Regions from separate parts of the Homo sapiens genome. Here regions 1, 2, 3, 4, 5 and 6 are each linked to region 7. The links are contacts of gene promoters, found by promoter capture Hi-C in blood cells and fetal thymus (Javierre and others, 2016). All regions are on one chromosome and are shown on one strand. The core of a region is centred on a gene start or on the middle of the fragment in contact, and the rest is flanking DNA. Distances in the headings are between cores, read along the strand shown. Region 1 overlaps RAPGEF2 (Rap guanine nucleotide exchange factor 2). Region 2 overlaps RAPGEF2 (Rap guanine nucleotide exchange factor 2). Region 3 overlaps RAPGEF2 (Rap guanine nucleotide exchange factor 2). Region 4 overlaps RAPGEF2 (Rap guanine nucleotide exchange factor 2). Region 5 overlaps RAPGEF2 (Rap guanine nucleotide exchange factor 2). Region 6 overlaps RAPGEF2 (Rap guanine nucleotide exchange factor 2). Region 7 holds the start of FNIP2 (folliculin interacting protein 2).

Region 1 (2,885 bases), core at 309-2,808, 450 kb after region 7:
ATCATGTCTGCATTGAAAGCTAGAAGCAGGAGGAAAGGCAATAGAGCAAAGTTACCTTTTCCATTCAAGACAGATTGCTTGAAGTGTCATTTCTATTTGTATCTCATTGTACAGAATGTGGACAGTAGTAGTCATGTGGCTACTTCAGGCCACCCAGGATCCTGGGACATGTAGTCTTTTACTCTGCAACGTGATGTGCCCTGCTAAAAATAATAATATAAAAACTATCCTTCTAAGGAGAAAGAGGAAAATGGATATTGGGGCAGGGAACCCACGGTCTCTGTTACACCTGCTGTTCAGTTTTCCCCCTCACTCTCAGAGTGCATTAATTGCCTATGCTTACATTCTACATTGGCTTAGCCACGCTCCTTTAGCTCTTATATCATCTGTAATTCCTATTTGTCCTACTGAAAGTTGACTCAAGTCCTGGTATTCCTGTGACATATATAAGGCAAAGGCTTAAAGATCTTAAGGAAGTGCTGGGAGAGAATTCCAAATAAGGCAAAGAAAATGATGAAACAAATATCAACTTGGTTCAACTAGAGTTGATGATATTGAAGGGAAACTTTAGCTACACTAGTTTTAAGTATATTCTACTTTAAATGTAAAATAAGGTAGGTCTCTAAAGAAGTAAAGTGAAATATGTAAATAGTCACAGTGGTATATATTAAAATATTCCCCCTTCGGATATTAGTCATAATTTCTGCTTCAGTATGAAATACCTTCATCCTGGAACACTAACATGATTTTTAGCATCATTTAGAACCCTCTTTCCTCTTGTACATCATATTCCGATGTGATACCTGATGCACAGAGCAAAGCTGTTCTCTAGAGAGAGAGAGGGTTCAATTGCTGGATCAAGTTGGGAATTTGGTTGCTATAACTACAACATCGCAGATGTGCTGTACATATAAATGCAGGCTTCTGTGGCCTTTGGAACACTGGGATTGGTAGTGTCTTAACACAGTAAGTAGCCGTAAAGAGAAGGACTCATATTTTTTGTGTGTATAGTTGATGGAGTTCCACAGGTCACCTGGTGCTTCACGTGTTCAGTTAGGGCATTGTTTGTGATCCTTGCTATAAATGAGTGTGTGATAGTTCATCCCAGAAGTCCTGGTTGCAGTGATGTTTATATTTCTCTTGAAGAAATAAATAATGCTATATTTCATAAAGATTTTAGAGTCTGATGTTTGTGTCAATGAAACACAGTATTGTTTTTCTCTGGAAAATGTTTCAGTTGGTTACCCACTGCTAAGTGCTAAGGAACTCATAACTCTTGTCTGTGCCCCGGTTGTTTTTGGAGAAGGGATAGAGGGATGTGTGAGTTACTGTTTCACTTGTATGAATTCAGGGTGTATCTTAAAATAACATAGCAGCTAAATTTGTTTTTGTTTAAGAAAGTGTACTCTCTGTATTGGGGTCGCTAACAGAAAATAACAAGAGTAAGAATATGGTTAAAAGAAGGATTGATATGTGAAGGAAATTATACTCTGGGAAATTGGAATGTCATTATTAAGATAAAAATGTCCAATTAATCATAGTTCAGGGACACTTTTATTATGAGTTGAATTATATATATATATATATATTTGAAGACAAGAAAATCATATTTTGAAATGTTGAAGGTGACTTTATTCTGTATTATGTACCCACTTAATTTTTTCCATGTATTGTAAGCTGTTTGACAGTACTCGTTGAAATAATAGTGAAGGAATAGCTTAGATATTTATATTATTGCTTTTTTAAGTGTAAGAATTTAAATGTCATGTGGTTTTTAAAAGGATCTGCAGTTATTTTTTATTACCAATTAGTATTTTGAATTGTGAGTCCAAAATATTTAAAATACTGTCTTAGATGTTTCTTACGGCGTTATAGGGGTTACATATTTTTGCTATTAAATAGAAAATAGAATTTCTGCTATCTAGTGTTCGTGTATTTAGAGAGCTACACGAACATTAAATCACTGTTTTCTTAGTTATACTTCTATCTACTTTATTGAGTCAGATATTTCAAGATAATCTTATCTTTTCTTGATGGCTTACCTTTTCATGTTTTACAACTAGAAATTGCTTAGAATGTAAGTGTAATTTCCTTAAGATAACTTTGCTATTAATTAAACATTTTCAGATAGTTTTAAAAATGAGGGCAATGGTTAAAATTTGTCAAACACATTGTTGTGTTTTATTATTATTTTATGGTTCATTAGGGTAAATTTAGAAAACAGTCATTAGGCAGACTTAATTCAGTTTTACACACAGAAAAACCTCAAGTTAAGAAATTCCATTTCATTAGGCTAAATCAGATACATTTTAGGATGAACGTGTATATACTCTAGCGTATACGTATCAGAGACATATATGTTTGCCTCTCTTCTTGCCATGATGGATATAGTCCAAGATAATAATTTAGTTATTACTCAGAATCGTGAGACCATTTCTGTTTACCTCTTTTCATCTTATCTTGAATTTTAACTTACATAATTTTGGGAACACAACTAAAGAGTTGGCTTTGAATAAGATATTCCAGATTTTATAGCCATTATCCCATTTAAGTGAACTTTTTTTTTTTTTGAGACAGAGTCTCGCTCTGCCACCCAGCCTGGAGTGCAGTGGTGTGATCTTGTCTCACTGCAACCTCCACCTCTCAGGCTCAAGTGATTCTTGTGCCTCGGCCTCCTGAGTAGCTGGAATTACGGTCATGTGCCACCACTCCCGACTAATTTTTGTATTTTTTGTAAAGATGGGGTTTTGCCATGTTGGCCAGGCTGGTCTTGAACTCCTAGCCTGAAGTGGTCCGCCTGCCTTGGCCTCCCAAAGTGCTGGGATTACAGGCATGAACTACCACGCCTGACCCCATTTAAGTGAACTTCTAAAATCCCTTATGTA
Region 2 (2,991 bases), core at 374-2,873, 410 kb after region 7:
CTTCCTCCTTATGTTTAAGTCCATAGACATTTACCACTTAGGCCTCAACCTCCATAGGCCTGCTAATTATGACACAGTCTTGGCCTCAGTTTCCTTGACCATTAAGAAAGACTTTTTAAAGGAATCAATCCACTTCCAAATACAGTTAAATATGTAGGTTCATATATGAAACAAAACCCCTTTTAAAGGAAAAAGATATGTCTTTTTTCTCATGCTGCAGTGGAACATAATCCCCCCACCCCATTATTTTTTGTTGTGTACAAGCAGCAAAGAGTCTATACAGGATAGGAGGGATTGCACCAGCATATGGTATGGGCAGGCAGTCAGGAGAGGAGGTGGAGAAATATTAATCTGCTCTCAGTTCTCCAAAGATCATATTACGACATACTGTACATTGTTAGTGAGATCTTGATGCTGCAAACAAATGAAACTAAAAGCTAGTTGTAAGTGAATTGTAAGTTTGCTATGAAGCCCGTTATATATTCTGAATGAGTCTCTAAGGAGAAATTAGAGAGCCCAGGATGTGGGGTACTCTCCCTCTGACTTCTTTCCCATTAGCATGTATTATGCTTTTTTTTTTTTTTTTTTTTTTTTGAGACGGAGTCTCGCTCTGTCACCCAGGCTTGAGTGCTGCCGCGCGATTTTAGCTCACTGCAACCTCCACCTCCCGGGTTCAAGCGATTCTCCTGCCTCAGCCCCCCAAGTAGCTGGGCTTACAGGTGCACACTACCACGCCCGGCTAGTTTTTGTATTTTTAGTAGAGACGGGGGTTTCTCCATGTTAGCCAGGCTGGTCTTGAGCTCCTGACCTCAGGCAATTCACCCGCCTCGGCTTCCCAAAGTGCTGGGATTACAGGCGTGAGCCACCACGCCTGACCTAGCATGTATTATGTTAACAGACTTTGAGCAAGAGGATTGACTTGGATAGGTTGTGAACAATCACCCCCCTAAAGTACTTAAAGGATGCTTTTGGGTTTTGAATCTGGTTTACATTTGGGACAAAAAAAGGGAAAGCTTTATTGGTTTATCAATATCTTTGTCCAATGTGCTACCATGGTTTTATAACTTCAGTCTACTTTCAAGTAGCATCTATTTTGAAAAAAGGATGTCCTTCCTAGGGTAAAACGAAAGACTTATTGTTCTAAAAAATGCTGCTTCCTGGTTAAAGCAACATGTTCCTGTTTGTGCTCAATGACTAGAGAATTTGGGGGAAAAAATAGCTTACTTTTTTTTCAGAGTCCTTTAAAATAGTAGTAGTCATGTGAATTTCATTTGTCTTGGGAAGTGCAGTTGGGAAGGTTAGAAATTTTTCAGTTTGTGTGTCATAGTTTTTTGACCAAAATGGAAATTGAGACACTCTAGGTAATTTAACTCTCCAGCATTATTTTTCTATAGTTGTTGGTTGAAATTTCCTTCTATGAATGTTTCTTGTTTGCATAGAGAAAAAAAGAATCTAAAAGTGTAACTCCCTGAAGGCCATACATTTCTTTGTGCATCTTAAGAGAAAAGTCTTGCTCTGTGATGCTACATATTTAGTTTTCACTAATGGTTGCACATTTCAGGTTGGTTTGAGGAGCGGGACTTCTCAGCACCCCATTCTTACTCACTTGCCTTTCTGTTTTTTTGCTGGTAGAGGCAATTCCATGCCAACTAATTATTTTAAGAAAAGCCAACAACTAAGGGGAAATGAAGGTTGAAACTTCTGTGTGAGAAGTGAAGGAGGAGAAATAGGAGTGACCACTATGGGCAGGAAAGGAGTGGGGGTAGCTCCTGGGCAGGGCAGAGCTGGATTGTTTTGCAGTGGCCTTTCATGCCCTAAATCTCCTCCCTTACAACTCCTGGTAGATTTCATTTCTCTTGGTTGTGCTGCCTGAAATCTCATACCACTTAGAGGTTTGTTTGGACTATGGAAGTACAAATGCCGACAGACAGTTCATGTGCAAGTTTTAAGGGTTCCTATTGAATGTGTTCAGATTGCCTGCCTTTAATTCTTAGACCAGGGCATAGTGAGCCGATATGGGGCTTGGGTAATGTGAGGTCTCGACACCTGGTGAGAAGGTAGAAAAAATTGATAGGAAGATTAGAAATGAAAGGCAATGTGTGCCTATTTCAAGACATTGCTTAGTCCCGCTTGCTTTTAGGAAAGGATAAGAAAACTTGTCTTCCGTTTTCCTTTTTGTTGTTTATGCGATCTGTGGTAACTAATATTTGGCTGCTGACCTCCTGATTGAAGAAAAGCTTAAACACAGATTGCTTCTTCCTTTAATTTGCATGTCTTTTGCTTATCTCTAGTAAACTTTCTTTCATTTTTCGGGGTCTGAGAGCAGAGATTTCTTGATGTCTTTGCCATAGTTTCTCTTTTTTTTCCTACATACCCAAATCCACGTTGGTCAAGTTCATATTACGTAGTGAAACATTACTTATGTGTTGCCTGCCACTCCTGTTAATACAACTAAGAAGTCTCAAGTTTACATGGAGTCTATCTGTAAAGCCACCTAACTGCATCTATAATAGCAGAATAATGTAGTCTTTTCCCCTAGTTTATAGGCTCCTTGTGGCACAGACCGTTTAAAACAAGTTTCATGTGGGATGATGTACTGTAAGAGCAATAGAAGAAACCCTGAATGTAATTGAATTTATTTAAGAAGTTTATAGTCTGGTTTGATATATAAAATACAAAATGAAGCAGTTACTACACAGGGTTTTCTGGTTGTATACTGCTTGAATAATGACACGTTTGAAAGTACCCCCTAAAAATCATGATTATATGGATATGAATGTTTTATTTATGCAGGTACATATAGAAAGAAAAACTGCTTTTTAAGTTTGTTCATGCAGTAAGGTGTAATGTCTATTTCCCAGTTTTATGATACAGGCTCAGTAACAATTTCCTGATTGATTTACTTATGTCAGTGAATTATAGGTGATAATATTCCATTCTTTACATTTTTATTAACTAATCAACAATCTTATTTAATTTGTATGTTATAAT
Region 3 (2,886 bases), core at 359-2,858, 440 kb after region 7:
CAGAAGGATGTCATCTGATCCGATTTACCTGAGCAAATGATCACTGAAATGTTTCCCAGCTTCTACTAGGCATGATGCGCAGTTCCTGCCTTGAAAGGAAGTTCATTGTAGTTGGAAGAAGATGCTCAGGAATAAGAAATCATTACAGAAAAACATAAAACAATGAAATTAGATGGGCTAAGTATTTTAGAGTTTGGAAAACAGTGAGTGAGAAGATTTTCTTAAAGTAGTAGTTTTTGAGCCATCTCTTAAGGTACAGTGGGATGTAGAGGGTAGATGGAGAGAGGTAAACATCTTGAACAGCATGGCAGAGTTGGAATGAACAGAAGGAAAGCAGCCTGTCAGGAGCAGCAGGTTATGTTGAGGGGTAGTAGGAAGGAAGGTGGGAGAGGTGAGGGGGTCAGATCAAGTATTTCCCTCATGCCCATTATTCTTTGTTTAGACTTGGGATAATGCTCAGCGGGGATCATACAGTTCTGATTGCCCCAGAGGCTTTCTATCTGTTTACATTGGAAGGTGAACTGATCATTTTATAATGGTCTGTATTTGGTTTTGTTTGGCCTCGTTAATTTCCTTCCTGTTGATGAAAAACAGAAACAGGAGCCTTTTAGAGTTTCTCGTTATAAACCAGGGCTTTTGTGACTTCCGTTTTGTCCATTGTGGGATGAGATGTATTGAAATGAAATCAGTTGTCCATTGTGGTTCCTAGCTCAAGATCCTGTGGTCAAATTCTGAGATTCTAAGAAGGATTTGGTCTTCTGTAAGCGTGAATTCCCCTGATTAGAGAGACTCGCAAGTACTGCTTTCCTATACGAACCTCTTTAGTCTTCAGATTTCTGTTTTTTGCCCAGTACTGGTAGTGTCAGGTTATTTGGAAATCCTCAGTCAGGGTTCTTTCAGGATTAAGCTTTGGCATTTCAGCAACACTTGAAGGGGCTCCTTTGCTCATAATTTTAAAAAAAAATTATTTGAGGAAAAATTAAAATAGCACTGATTAATACAATGTATGTACCTAGTTGCATGGATATTAATAGAGTTGTACTTTTTTTCCTGCCATTTGTTCCTCTTGGGAGTTCATATTGAGACCATTTTTTCTGAAAGTTTTTCAGAGTTGGCCAGCCCCATGTGTAAGAAACATCCAGGATATTTGTTTAAAAGTCACTTTGATGGATCTCCTATCTAATGATCAGAAACTGGGGAATTGGGTGGGATAGATGCATTTTAAATTAACATCTTAGGTGATTCATTTGCACATCAGGGCCTGAGAACTACTAGATAGAATAGAATCTCAGTGTTAGTCTTAGATATTTATTATTATTACTACCACTACACTTACTTCTTGTCTTACAATGTGGTTACATCCCAATAAACCCACTATATGTTGAAAACATCCTAAGTCAAAATGCAGTTAACGTACCTAGCCTACTGAACATCATTGCTTAGCCTAATGATATGGTTAGGCTCTGTGTCCCCACCCAAATCTCATGTCAAATTGTTGTGCCATTGGGGGAGGGACCTAGTGGGAGGTGATTGGATCATGGGGGCAGATTTCCCCTATGCTGTTCTCATGATAGTGGATGAGTGTTCATGAGATCTGGTGGTTTAAACATGTGTAGCACTTCCCTCTTTGCTTTCTTTTCTGCTCCACCATGGTAAAACATGCTTGCTTCCCCTTCGCCTTCCCCCATGATTGTAAGTTTCCTGAGGTGTCCCCAGTCATGCTTCCTGTACAGCCTGCGGAACTGTGAGCCAGTTAAACCTCTTTTCAAGTTACCCAGTCCCAGGTAGTTCTTTATAGCAGTGTGAGAACCGACACATACACTTAGGCTACTGTAAACATGCTCAGAACACTTACATTAGCCTACAGTTGGGCAGGATCTTTTTTTTTTTTTGAGACAGAGTGTCGCCCTGTCACCCAGGCTGGAGTGCAGTGGTGCAATCTTGGCCTCACTGCAAGCTCCGCCTCCCGGGTTCACGCCATTCTCCTGCCTCAGCCTCCCGAGTAGCTGGGACTACTGGCACCGCCACCATGCCCGGCTAATTTTTTTTGCATTTTTAGTAAAGACGGGGTTTCACCGTGTTAGCCAGGATGGTCTCGATCTCCTGACCTCGTGATCCACCCACCTCTGCCTTCCGAAGTGCTGGGATGACAGGCATGAGCCACCGCGCCCAGCCGCGCAGGATCTTTTAACACAAAGCCTATATTATAACAAACTGTTGAGTACCTCATGTAATTTATTGGATATTCTATTGAAAATGAAAAGCAGAATCGTTGTGGTGCTGGAAGTTGAGTGTGTCGTAAAGACAAAAAAGCTTGTCAGACCATTGGAAGTTGGGCACCGTCTGTACTATTATTATTATTGTCAGTCTTCTCTTAACCAGCTTCATTGCCTGGAAGTGAGGTCTCAATTTGCATATCCTTTAAGTACTGAACAATTTGCTGCTGCTACTACTAAGTACTATTTTCATAATTTCAGTTTCATTTTTCTTAAAAAAACCATCACTTTCCCATTTTTACATACACATGTAAAAACCCTCCAGTGACAGCTAGCTGCACTGTGGAAAGGAAGTGTTTGCAGACCTTGAAGGGAAGCACGTTGTACCCCACACGGAAACTCTGCCTGCCTGAGGCATGATTGTAAGTGAAAAGAGTAAGCGTGGTTAGTTCAGTGCTTTCTAATAAAGTAAGGGGAATTTTCTAGACTAGTAAGACTAAATAAAACATATTTCGATGCTGACACCTCAGCAAGGAATTTTCATAACAGGAACTAAACATGAATTCTATGGGGGATGGATAGGAGGAGAGGAGAGGGGTTTTTCTAGCTTACAACTATTTCCAGAACATCTGTAAAATAAGAGTCACTGTTTTTTGTATTCTTACATTTC
Region 4 (2,877 bases), core at 127-2,626, 510 kb after region 7:
GAGAATTAAAGCATGTCTGTTGAACATCCTCACAAAAGTTCATTAGTAGTGATATTAAGAAGTTTTTTCAAAAAAAAAAGGAAATATGGATAACTTTAAAATGTCTTCTAGCTGTTTCTCAGAGCAAGACTAGTTAGGGACTATCTTTTTTTAATTATTATTATACTTTAAGTTGTAGTGTACATGTGCACAACGTGCAGGTTTGTTACATATGTATACATGTGTCATATTGGTGTGCTGCACCCATTAACTCATCATTTACATTAGGTATATCTCCTAATGCTATCCCTCCCCCCTCCCCCTACCCCACTACAGGCCCAGTTGTGTGATGTTCCCTATCCTGTGTCCAAGTGTTCTCATTGTTCAATTCCCACCTATGAGTGAGAACATGCAGTGTTTGGTTTTCTGTCCTTGTGATAGTTTGCTGAGAATGATGGTTTCCAGCTTCATCCATGTCCCTACAAAGGACATGAACTCATCATTTTTTATGGCTACATAGTATTCCATGGTGTATATGTGCCACATTTTCTTAATCCAGTCTATCATTGATGGACATTTGGGTTGGTTCCAAGTCTTTGCTATTGTGAGTAGTGCCACAATTAACATACGTGTGCATGTGTCTTTATAGCAGCATATGATTTATAATCCTTTGGGTATATACCCAGTAATGGGATTGCTGGCTCAAATGGTATTTCTAGTTCTGGATCCCTGAGGAATCGCCACACTGACTTCCACAATGGTTGAACTAGTTTACAGTCCCACCAACAGTGTAAAAGTGTTCCTGTTTCTCCACATCCTCTCCAGCACCTGTTGTTTCCTGACTTTTTAATGATTGCCATTCTAACTGGCGTAAGATGGTATCTCATTGTGGTTTTGATTTGTGTTTCTCTGATGGCCAGTGATGGTGAGCATTTTTTCACATATCTGTTGGCTGCATAAATGTCTTCTTTTGTGAAGTGTCTGTTCATATCCTTTGCCCGCTTTTTTATGGGGTTGTTTGATTTTTTCTTGTAAATTTGTTTAGTTCTTTGTAGATTCTGGATATTAGCCCTTTGTCAGATGGATAGATTGCAAAAATTTTCTCCCGTTCTGTAGGTTGCCTGTTCACTCTGATGGTAGTTTCTTTTGCTGTGCAGAAGCTCGTTAGTTTAATTAGATCCCATTTGTTTAATTAGATCCCATTTGTCAATTTTTGCTTTTGTTGCCATTGCTTTTGGTGTTTTAGTCATGAAGTCCTTGCCGATGCCTATGTCCTGAATGGTATTGCCTAGGTTTTCTTCTAGGGTTTTTATAGTTTTAGGTCTAACATTTAAGTCTTTAATCCATCTCCAATTAATTTTTGTATAAGGTGTAAGGAAGGGATCCAGTTTCAGTTTTCTACATATGGTTAGCCAGTTTTCCCAGTACCATCTGTTAAATAGGGAATTCTTTCTCCATTTCTTGTTTTTGTCAGGTTTGTCAAAGATTAGATGGTTGTAGATGTGTGGTATTATTTCTGAGGGCACATCAGAGTCATCTGGAAGTCCTAGAACACAGGGTTTGAAGAAACCCAGGATAGAATGGGGTTGAAGATGACCTGCTCCCACATTGGTTTAAATACTCTACTCTTATAATTTATATGATTTTATCATTCCTACCCCTAAGGAACCTGAGTACTGAAATATATTGAAATAACTACTCAGGGTTCCACAGGAGCTCTCGAAATTTAGCAGTGGGTGGAAGGCGGGAATCTGACTTAGAAGTGAAACTGCTGCTAGTAACCCATCTATAAAAATAACCCAAGTTAGGAAATAGTTAGTACATGTGATTATGAAAACTATAATCTGGCCAGTTGTGACCTTTGTGAAGAAAGTTACGTAAAGAGAAGGGATTAGTAAGAGCTGTAGCATTGTGGTCAGAAAACTCCAGAACCAGTAACTTGGATTTACAATCTGGCTTCATCACTCATTCGCTGTGTGACCCTGGCTGTGTGGTCTTTTAACATGGAATCTTCATTTGTAAAATGGAGGTAATACGGTTGTGTGAAGATTAAATGAGGTAAAACCTATAAAGTACTTAGAATAATACACAACCCATAAATACAATTCTTATATTTTTGTAGGAAGTTTTTATCCACACTATCCAGGAGGTAAGGAAAATTAAACCTGTTACACACGTGAGGCAGAGACAGTACACTTGAGTACACTTGATGTTTCCCTTTCCTTTAGGTGACTGTCCTTAAGTTGGTTTGCCTTTTCCATCCCCTACGGTTCCATACTCAGCAGCAACCTTCTTTTTACTAGTTCATTATTAGAGTGAAAAAACAACAGTAATGATATCATTAGTTAAAATGGAAGGCTCCCTTTGTTCCAGGCAGTGTTCGAAACTCTTCATTTATGATCTCATTGAATCCTCACAATAATGTAAGAGTGCTGCCTCCACATACTAAAGAAATCAGGACATAGAGAGGTAAAGTAACTTTCTCACAGTCACAAGCTAACGCCTGGTGGAGCCATTGGCAGGTTTTTCTTGTACGTGCAGATGCATGCGCACGCACAGGTCTATTTGGGGAAGCTGCATGAAACACCTTCCTTTGTACATAGGTTAAAGGATGGACAATTCCTTTTGTTTTCAGTGTGTCCTGTGGATTATAATTCTAATCAGAAAGTCCTCGAACAGTTTATTCCTCCCTCAACATTTAGAAGTGATTTTCTTTCAAGTAAGTTTCAAAGGGCTTTCATAAGTGCCATGTCGTAACTGCTACCATCCCTGACATAAAATGTAGAGTAACTTTACCTTGATCTCAATGGAAATAAAAGCAGTATATTTTATTGTTCCTCAGTCTTAGCCAGAATTGCAAGAATACAATTTTGTTTTGAAGAACTACTCTTTAACTCT
Region 5 (3,115 bases), core at 310-2,809, 390 kb after region 7:
GGGTAGGGACCGAGACAGGCAGCAGCCAGGTGTAGTAAATGTCTATGGTGGGGCTAGCAGATGGTGCCTGGGGGTGTACTTCTAATTTTGGTTGTTTAAAATACTTGTTTTATTTGACATTTCAGAGTTATAGTAGAAGTTTATAATATTTTCTTCTTAAAGGAGATAAATATTAACTAGAAGGTTTTAATGATTTTTATTCTTAAGAGGGCCTGCATTGTATTTTTGCCAAAAGTAAAAAGAGGCAATAGTCCTCTTAATTTCCTTCAACTTCACTCCCCAACCAGCAATAAATTCCAGGAACTGCATGCAGATCAGTGATCCTTTATCTTTCATTGTTCTCCTTATGTGGGAAAGCATTATTACTTAGGTGTAAATGTAGATTGTAGTTGAACAAAAAGCAAAGGAAGACATATCCCTTTCCTTTGGCTCTCCTTTTTGTGTCTTGAGTCTAAAAGGACTTTAAGATTATCTAGTTAATCTCCAGTCTCCCAACAGGCAGTACCTAAACCATCTTTGTTGAGAGCACTTGTAAGGTTATCAGAGGTCATTAAAAAATTTCCTACCCAAATCTCTCTGCTTTTAAATAGCTAACACCTTTCCTTTACAGAGTTCCTTTATTGAACATTTTGTGTAAATATTCTCTTTGTGGGCAGGGAGAAGTAGGTAATTACCAGTAGCAACCCTTGGTGGTCGCAAACAAAAAAAAAGTTCAGAGATGACTATAGTCACCTATTCAGGAGAGCATCCAGAGTATGTTGGCACACAAAACCAAGTCTTTTTAATTTATGCAATTTGCTCAATATTAATTGAATCAACTGAGAAGGGTGAAATTTTACTAGCGTTATTTGCCAGGTTGGACCTTGGAACCTGAAGGAACCAGAAATTATCATTGACAACCTCGCTAGAGGCCCTTACTCAAGTTTCACTCTTATTTGGGTTTTTTGGAGACTGGCTAATCCCCCTTTTCTTTAAAATTGAAACAATAGCCGTAGCTGTATAAGGGCTAGCGTTTAAGTGTTTTATAATCTCACTTTATTTGGTCTTAACGGCAACACTATAAAGTGTAGGTATGATCCTTAATTTTTATATGGTGAAATGAAAGCTTAGAGATATTTAAGTAACTGTCCCAGAATCTTACAGCAATAAGTAGCAAAGTTAGGATTTCGACTGGGTCTGATGCCAAAATACTTCCCTCAGTTGTTTTCCTCTGCCACCTCTGTGGTTTGCAGCGCCCGTCCACAGTGTCTCCCTCAGCCCCTTTCCTGGATCACGCAGCTGTTTATTTTGCATCACCCTCCTTCCATTTTACAAACAACAAGTTGTACCCTCAGATTCCACTGTTAGGCAAATATGGTTGGACATCACTATTCTCTTAGGAAAAATGTGTTGCTTCAATCTGTATGGAGAAAATTCTTTTATTTTGATTTAAGTACATATAGTGGGATCAACCTATAGATGTTTTCAAGAAAACTGAGTGTAGTGTTGTTCCAAGAAAATTCTTTTATTTTGATTTAAGTACATATAGTGGGATCAACCTATAGATGTTTTCAAGAAAACTGAGTGTAGTGTTGTTCCAAGAAAATTCTTTTATTTTGATTTAAGTACATATAGTGGGATCAACCTATAGATGTTTTCAAGAAAACTGAGTGTAGTGTTGTTCCAAGAGGTCTCTTAAAAAGAGTATTTCAGAATCGTCTGACCACTGAAAAATTATTCATACACATATTACAGCAAATTAAATTTTAGTGACTTTTTCTCAGCATTCAAGATTATAATAACAATTCTACAACTTGACCTCTTCATTAGAAATGTGGAAGTGATTTAAACTGACAGTGTGAACAATAGTGTTCTCAACTCGTATAGCAGCATCCTATTTATAGATGGAAGCAGCTGCATCCTTTTTCTTTATTTAGGAGGAATACTATTGTTCTCAGATCATCAGGTGGATGATCCTGTGGGGAAAATGTGATTGAGCCAATTATAACACAGGTATTATTGATCTCCCTCCAATCAAGCTTTTATTCATCTATATGGAAAAAAACCCACATTTAAACTCTAATAGCTAAGTATGAAATGTGATGCTGAATTCATATTAATTGGACACTTACATAGTTGTTTTAGTCTAATGAGATTATTTCATCAAGAAGCTATCTTTGTTCAACATTTCTAGTTGTGCAAAGGCTTTAGTCTGTTACGTATACTATAGACACATGTCTATTCACATTTAAAATTGTAGTTATTTTATGAAATGTACCTTTTACTGATTCCCATTCTTTCCTATCAACAACTGATAGTTGTGCTTTTATATAAAATGTTAATAATATCTGATACTTACAGAAAGCCAGGCACTGTGCTTTATATTTTGCCTGTTTTATCTTACTTAATTCTCTCCCAACCCAGTGAAGAACATGTTTTCTCACATTATACAGATGAGGACAGTTGATATACTTTGCCTAAGGTCATACATTACACAGTAAATGCTAGAACTGAAGCTTCAAACCCATCTGTTTCTGATTTTAAATCCTCACTCATGTAACATGGATATTGTTGGCAGTGTTGGGACTATGGCTAGAAAGTGTTTGTTTCACTTATTTCAATAGCAAACTTCAGTAGCAATTTGAAGAAAGTCAACTTCAAACTAACTGCATTGCCTGCGCACAGAGCTTAGACCAGAGTTAGGTATGTATCTTTAACATGATATTCAGTATATCTTTTTCTGTATGTAGCAAACTATATGGATGAAGATCTGTTACTTTGTGCCTTAAAATAACGACTCCAAAAGGAAGTGGATTTGATTTAAGTGAATTTGTAGTGCATGCTCTATTCACCTATTCCTGTACATCATTTTTTTTTCTCTTCCACAATGAAATTTTTTGAGTACGATGTAGGAAATCATCTTAAAGTGGAGTGTACTTACCCACATCAGGGTTTAAAAGGTAAAATTTCTTCTATAGCTTTGTCTATATTACATTTTTACCCTTCCATTTGAAACTAATTAGAAATATTAGTGATCAAGTATCCGAACCTAATTAGAAATTAAAGTTTTTTTTAATCATAGGTTTTGAATTCATAGCTTAAAAAAATGCTTCTGATTGAAGATAAGATGGGAATT
Region 6 (2,813 bases), core at 230-2,729, 470 kb after region 7:
TTTTTATAAACTGCTTATAATATTAGATTTTTGTTGAATAGAAAATATTGTATATTTTCTATAACAGATATATTTATTTCACAACTTTTTATTAATATGAATTTGAGTTCATAATCATATTTTATTATTTACAGGATTCAATTAAATGCCAAAAAAATTTAAAAAGTACAAGTAGCTAAGTGTTTGGTTTTTGTACTTTGTAATTCAATCTATAATAATGCCATTTAATTGAAATTTGGGGAGAATCTCTTGATTGCAGGATTTTAGCTCTCCAAGTGTTGATTGGAATGAGTGACTTACTTTAAATCAATCACTAGGTTTGCTGGTGTGAGAACAATTTTGGAATCTAAACATGCCTCCATTGTGAGCAATCGTGAGGAATAACCAAATGGAACTTGTGTTCACTGTTAATTCATTCATTAGAGTTTCTAAGATGTTTTAAATGAGGAATTATTTTTTAAACAACACTATTTTAAAAAACACAAGAAAATCACTTGAATTTTTTCAAGTTATTAAAAGGAAATTTGGGGATTATTATGCTGGTTAAACACTCTGTTGACATCTTTTCCCTCTTTTTAATGTAATTTTGTGACAAAAATTTATAAACAGAGATTATACATAGAACATATTGTTAAAATAGATATTAGCAACATACTTTGAAGCTTAAAAACCAAACCTGTCATACTTTTTACTTACTGTATAAGAATGATTTTAAGATAGGATAATATGTACCCTTTAAAAAATTTAGTAACAAAAATAAGATGAGGTGGAAGGGGAGTTTCCCAGCCTAGACATTCAGTTGATATTCTTACTGTCTCCATCCAGCACCCTAGCTGGGAAGGAAGATCTTGTAAAGTAAATGATGTCTAAATAAAGATGATGATGGAAACTTTTATTCACATTTAGTAAAGTATTTAGTAAACAATTCTAGGTCTCTTTTCAGAGAAGATGTAGGGTTTTTCCCTATGATGTAGGAGAGGAATTCTGTCAGAAATGAGAACTTCCTCATCAAAGCTAGCGAACTTTTTGTAAAATTTACTAAAATATTTGGTAAAGTTTTACAAAACGTACTCAAGTGAGAAAGTAGCATAGTAATGGTAAGGATTTAGGATTGGGAAGAATGTAGGCAGATATATAGCACTTTCCAACAGTAGATAGTCTTAGATATTTCCTTGAGATTTTGCCCTCTGTTAATGCTACTTTTAGATTTCTCTGGAGGATTTTTAGTCTTTAAAACTGAGTATTTTATACTTGCTGATACTACACAAACTACTAGGTTTGCTGGTGTGAGAACAGTTTTGTAACCTAGACATGCCTCCATTATGAGAAGTCACATGAGGAATAACCTAATGTAACTTTTATTCCCTGTTCATTCATCAGCATTTCTACTTTTTTTTTTTTTTTTTTTGGAGACGGAGTCTTGTCGTGTTGTCTAGCTTGAAGTGCAGTGGCGCGATCTCAGCTCACTGCAACCTCCACCTCCTGGGTTCAAGCAATTCTCCTGCCTCAGCCTCCCGGGTAGCTGGGATTACAGGCACGTGCCACCACACCCAGCTACTTTTTTGTATCTTTAGCAGAGATGGGGTTTCACCATGTTGGCCAGGCTGGTCTTGAACTCCTGACCTCGTGATCCACCCGCCTCGGCCTCCCAAAGTGCTGGGATTACAGGCGTGAGCAACTGTGCCTGGCCTAAAATTTTTTTAAATGAGGAATTACTTTTAAACAACACTATTTATAAAAAAAGAAACCGAAGTCATGGAATGAAAGTAGAAGGAGAAACCCTTGCGTAACCTACCAAAGCCATTCTGTTAGCACTGTTTTTGAGTCATTCAGGATTTGGAAGTTTTTACAGATTTCCATCAGGGTTTTTTTTTTTTTTTTTTTCTTTTTTCTACGTTGCTTAAGACAGTGTGGCAGTTGCTTTCATAATGTGTGGTAATGTATCCTGTGAGATCTTTCACTAATAAATCAGTACAAAGACTGCTGAAAATATCCTTCCCTTTGAAACTACAGGAAATTCAAGAGTTACCCATATTGTCCTAAGTGGAACTGAAAATGCCTCCTCATAAAAGAAATGTTACTCAAAACCAGTTAGTTCCAGAGAAGTTCAGAGACACTTGAAGTTTGTCTAGATAGTTTTCTACAGATGTCTTTGCAAGATGATTGAATATGGGTTATCTGTAAGTTTCTTTCTGTATCTAATATTAATAGGAAATGTTGTGTTTGGAGAAATGAAATTTTGGGGGGTTTTATTTCAGGTGGACTATATGGATGAAAATGAAGAATATTTTCAGCGGCAAGCTTCCCATAGACAGTCTCGAAGGAGATTTAGAAAAATCAACCAGAAAGGTGAAAGACAAACAATTATTGACACTGTGGATCCTTATCCCATGGGCAAACCTCCTTTGCCTAGAGGCTATCACACGGTAAGTTATACAAGTATAATATTTTTATTTATTTCTAGTTTTTTGTTGGGGTTTTGTGAAAAGATGTTTAAGTTTTCCATTTTTGACAAATCTTTTCAATTATATATATATACACACACATTAAGTATACTTAAATATTTATTTTTATTTGTTATATTAATAAATATAAAAATAAATATATAATATGTATATATTATTTAAACATTTATTATAGAAAGAGTAGATTTTTCTGGGAAACATGATATGATTAGTTTTTAAAAGACATTGAAATAACATGTCAACAGACTTTGCTAGCTCCTTTATTTCTTAAGTTGTTCTCTGAAGATCAGCTTTGTGATAAGCACATGTAATTGTAATTGGAATATTTTAAGTTGTTTTACCTTAATC
Region 7 (3,006 bases), core at 227-2,726:
GCATCCTGACCAACACTGGCAGCCCTATGAGGTAAAGGCCTTCAGCAAACAGAAATAGCAAAGTTGCAAATTAGGGTTCTGTGTACACTCAATTGTGCAAAAGGATGATTGCTCATCAGGATAAACACTTAATCCACCATTTTAACAGTAAAAGTCCGAAGGAAACAAATGACTAAGTTTCCATTTCTACCACCTTTCTCTTACCTTTGTGAAATTTCAGCACATTATTCACAGCTAGTTCCCAACCAAGTCCAGAAACTAACACAATTAAAAAAAGAAAATGCAAAGTAAAATAGGCCCAGAATAGGTTCTTTTGATTACTTATGTTTTTGGAAATATATTTTCCTTTTTGAGTCTCCAAGAGTCCTCCTCTCAACAAGTGTAAGAGAGCCCAGGTGAGTCACTGTTCACTACTCATGGAGAAGCTAGAAGAGGCATGGTTGGGGTCTTACTAACTTTATCTCTATTTCCCATCATCGGAAAAATTCGTGAAGCCCAACGCTCTAAAACATAGATTAAGAAGTTGCTTTGAGTCTGGTAACGTGTCCTACACTGGCTGTTTAGAGCCCTGCACCACCAAGGATTAAATTCCAAAGGGGACTGGGGTGGGACAGGGCAGGAAAGCGGACTCAAACACATGAACTCCTCCCTTCCTCAAACCAAATATCTGCTGCTGATATGCCTTGATTGACTGTTAAATATGTATTAGGAAAAACAATCCCTTGCTATAAAATATCTTAAGTTTCTAAATCTATGTAGTGAGTTCTGTGTGTGTGTGTGTGTGTGTGTGTGTGTGTGTGTGTGTATGTTTTAAAGGGGGGACTTAATATTTCAAATGCAACTTCTTATATAACCATGGTATGGTGGCCCAAGACGCCAAACAGAACAAATGATTTGGATAAACAGTTTAAATTTTGTGAAAGCCTGGAGGAATCGAATTTGGACATGGAGGAAACCTGACAAAACCTTGGGTGCTATGTGATTCAAATCACAGCCCACCGAAGCGGCCACCGCGCGTACCAAGCCTTCCCCCCTAGCATACGCCTTCTGTGAACGGGCTCTTGTACCTGAACAAAGCGAGGACCCAAGTTCAGGGGCTTTGTCTCTAAAGAACAAAGATCGGCCTAGCTGCATGCTCGCTGTGCGAAAGAACCCAGGCTCCGTGGGAACCCCACGCCACTCGCGGAGCTGCGCCCCGGCGGCCGCCCTCGCCCCTCGGGCCCCTTTAAGTGCCGCGCCTGCCCCCGTCCGCGTCCCCCGCGTGCCCGGAGTACTGGGCCGCCCGCCCGCTCCTGGCCGCACCTCCCACCTCCCGCCTCCCGCCGGGGTTACGTGAGCCCGGGGCGGGCGGCCGCCGGGCCAATGGCCGCCGCCGGGGCCGCCGCGCTCCTCCCGCGCCGCCGCCGCCGCCGTGGGGCTGCGGGCTCCTCCCGCAGGAGATAACTGTCAGCGCGCGAGGCGGTGGCGGGCCGGCTCAGTCATATGACCGGCAGCCGGCGGCTCCGGCGCCGAGCAGAGTTACTCAGTCGCAGCGGCCCCGCGCTCCCGCAAGGCTGGGCGGCCGCGCCGCCGCGATGGCCCCGCCACCGCGGCCGCCGCCCCCGGCTGCGCGCTGAGCCGCCGGCCCCCCGAGCGCCACGGCCGGAGCTGCGGCGGCGGCATCATGGCCCCGACCCTGCTCCAGAAGCTCTTCAACAAAAGGGGCAGCAGCGGCAGCTCCGCGGCGGCGTCTGCCCAGGGCAGGGCTCCTAAGGAAGGACCCGCCTTTAGGTGAGGGGGCGCCGGGGGGCAATTCTGGCGCGGGACCCGAGTTGGCTTCGGTGCTCGCCGGGGAGGGGACGGGTAGGGGAAAGGGAAGGGACTGTCCAGGACGGCGCTGCCTATCGCCGGCACCTGGTCCCGGGCTTGTCAGCGTGGACGCGCCTGATCCGAGTGTGGCTCCGGACCCTCCGTGACCCTTCCTCCCGCTCTTTCTCCACAACTCAGGGTCCTTCCCCATTTCAGAGTTCTCTTGTGTTCCTTGGGGTTCCCGGGCGTGCGCTGTGCTTGGCTGTGGCGACCGGAGATTCTCCGGTTATTGGGGTGAACCCCTTCCGGGCAGAGCCGCCTGGGCACCTCTGCGGGCCCAGCAAAGCTGTGAGCTGTCATTTTGAGGGCAGCTCCAACCTATTGTGTACGTGACAGTGTTTTGAAGTTCTGAAGGAGCAACAGTCACGAAAAAGGCATCTTTCTTCTTTCTTGCCATATATGACAAGCTCTCAAACGGATGAATGAAAGTATGTAATTTCCACATCATGTGGAAGGTTGATGCCGCATGATGTGTGGAAAGGGGGAGTAAGATGCAATTATGAAATTTCCGAGATTTCAATTGATCAAAGCTGATATGTATATTTAATAGATTTGATCTCTCGAACACATACCTTTGAATATTGATAGCATTTATGGAGAGCTTACTACCTAAAATGCTTTATGTTGATTTCTGTCGTTTACTTTTCTGACAATGCGGTGAGGTGGGTGCTATTATAATTCCCATTTTACAGGTGAGGAAACTTAAAGTCACAGATAACTTAGGCGGCTTGCCCAAAATCCAGCTGTCAGTGGTAGAGCCTGTGTTTTGACCCAAGCAGTTTGACCACAGATTCCAGTCTTTAAAATCCCTATGCTATTCTGATTTCAAGGGCTAACTTTTAAAAGACGCCTTAAAATGTCCTATATTGCCTTTGAGCACAGGTATGTTGAGAAGTTTATTTAACAATTTTTCAACACATTTTAAAATTGAGCACCAACTCCCAATTCTGACACTATGCTAGGTGCTTTTTGGCCAAAATGTCTTGCAAAAACAGTTCACTGTTAAACAGATCTAGACCCAGTATAATAAACCTTTAAAAGTTTCAAGTGAAACTTTGAAATAAATTCTGGATTAAGTTTTATGTTCTAGATTTTGCTTTTCTTGAATTCCATCATTTAAAACAGTCTCTCACTGTGGTCATGTGAAAATTAAACGTG

What was found. The method cuts DNA at HindIII sites, captures the fragments that hold promoters and counts their contacts. A CHiCAGO score of 5 or more calls a contact.
Region 1: a contact is called between a fragment that was not itself captured here and the fragment with the promoter of FNIP2 in region 7, in 1 of 17 cell types (erythroblasts). The highest score is 6.4, in erythroblasts.
Region 2: a fragment that was not itself captured here is called in contact with the fragment with the promoter of FNIP2 in region 7 in 17 of 17 cell types (naive CD4 T cells, activated CD4 T cells, non-activated CD4 T cells and 14 more); the score reaches 24.8 in naive CD4 T cells.
Region 3: a contact is called between a fragment that was not itself captured here and the fragment with the promoter of FNIP2 in region 7, in 14 of 17 cell types (fetal thymus, activated CD4 T cells, naive CD8 T cells and 11 more). The highest score is 13.8, in fetal thymus.
Region 4: a contact is called between a fragment that was not itself captured here and the fragment with the promoter of FNIP2 in region 7, in 2 of 17 cell types (erythroblasts and M2 macrophages). The highest score is 7.1, in erythroblasts.
Region 5: a contact is called between a fragment that was not itself captured here and the fragment with the promoter of FNIP2 in region 7, in 14 of 17 cell types (total B cells, naive CD4 T cells, fetal thymus and 11 more). The highest score is 15.7, in total B cells.
Region 6: a fragment that was not itself captured here is called in contact with the fragment with the promoter of FNIP2 in region 7 in 7 of 17 cell types (M2 macrophages, erythroblasts, M1 macrophages and 4 more); the score reaches 8.8 in M2 macrophages.

The regions. Positions count from the first base shown.
Region 1 is chr4:159,221,347-159,224,231 of GRCh38, forward strand. The region is part of intron 4 of RAPGEF2 (Rap guanine nucleotide exchange factor 2); the gene reads left to right. Among named protein-coding and RNA genes, the nearest start is that of MIR3688-1, 94 kb to the left of the region's middle. The HindIII fragment of the contact is 8,955 bases long and covers 1-2,885 here.
Region 2 is chr4:159,177,982-159,180,972 of GRCh38, forward strand. The region is part of intron 1 of RAPGEF2 (Rap guanine nucleotide exchange factor 2); the gene reads left to right. Among named protein-coding and RNA genes, the nearest start is that of MIR3688-1, 51 kb to the left of the region's middle. The HindIII fragment of the contact is 1,224 bases long and covers 1,012-2,235 here.
Region 3 is chr4:159,204,055-159,206,940 of GRCh38, forward strand. The region is part of intron 3 of RAPGEF2 (Rap guanine nucleotide exchange factor 2); the gene reads left to right. Among named protein-coding and RNA genes, the nearest start is that of MIR3688-1, 77 kb to the left of the region's middle. The HindIII fragment of the contact is 1,406 bases long and covers 906-2,311 here.
Region 4 is chr4:159,276,778-159,279,654 of GRCh38, forward strand. The region is part of intron 7 of RAPGEF2 (Rap guanine nucleotide exchange factor 2); the gene reads left to right. Among named protein-coding and RNA genes, the nearest start is that of MIR3688-1, 150 kb to the left of the region's middle. The HindIII fragment of the contact is 7,495 bases long and covers 1-2,877 here.
Region 5 is chr4:159,157,940-159,161,054 of GRCh38, forward strand. The region is part of intron 1 of RAPGEF2 (Rap guanine nucleotide exchange factor 2); the gene reads left to right. Among named protein-coding and RNA genes, the nearest start is that of MIR3688-1, 31 kb to the left of the region's middle. The HindIII fragment of the contact is 913 bases long and covers 1,104-2,016 here.
Region 6 is chr4:159,238,943-159,241,755 of GRCh38, forward strand. RAPGEF2 (Rap guanine nucleotide exchange factor 2) reads left to right here. Exons shown (of 30, transcript NM_001394067.2): 6 at 2,259-2,426. Among named protein-coding and RNA genes, the nearest start is that of MIR3688-1, 110 kb to the left of the region's middle. The HindIII fragment of the contact is 1,639 bases long and covers 661-2,299 here.
Region 7 is chr4:158,767,550-158,770,555 of GRCh38, forward strand. It overlaps FNIP2 (folliculin interacting protein 2), which reads left to right and starts at 1,477. Exons shown (of 17, transcript NM_020840.3): 1 at 1,477-1,770. The coding sequence starts at 1,664. RefSeq lists a silencer at 1,218-1,427 and an enhancer at 1,385-2,122. The HindIII fragment of the contact is 6,862 bases long and covers 1-3,006 here.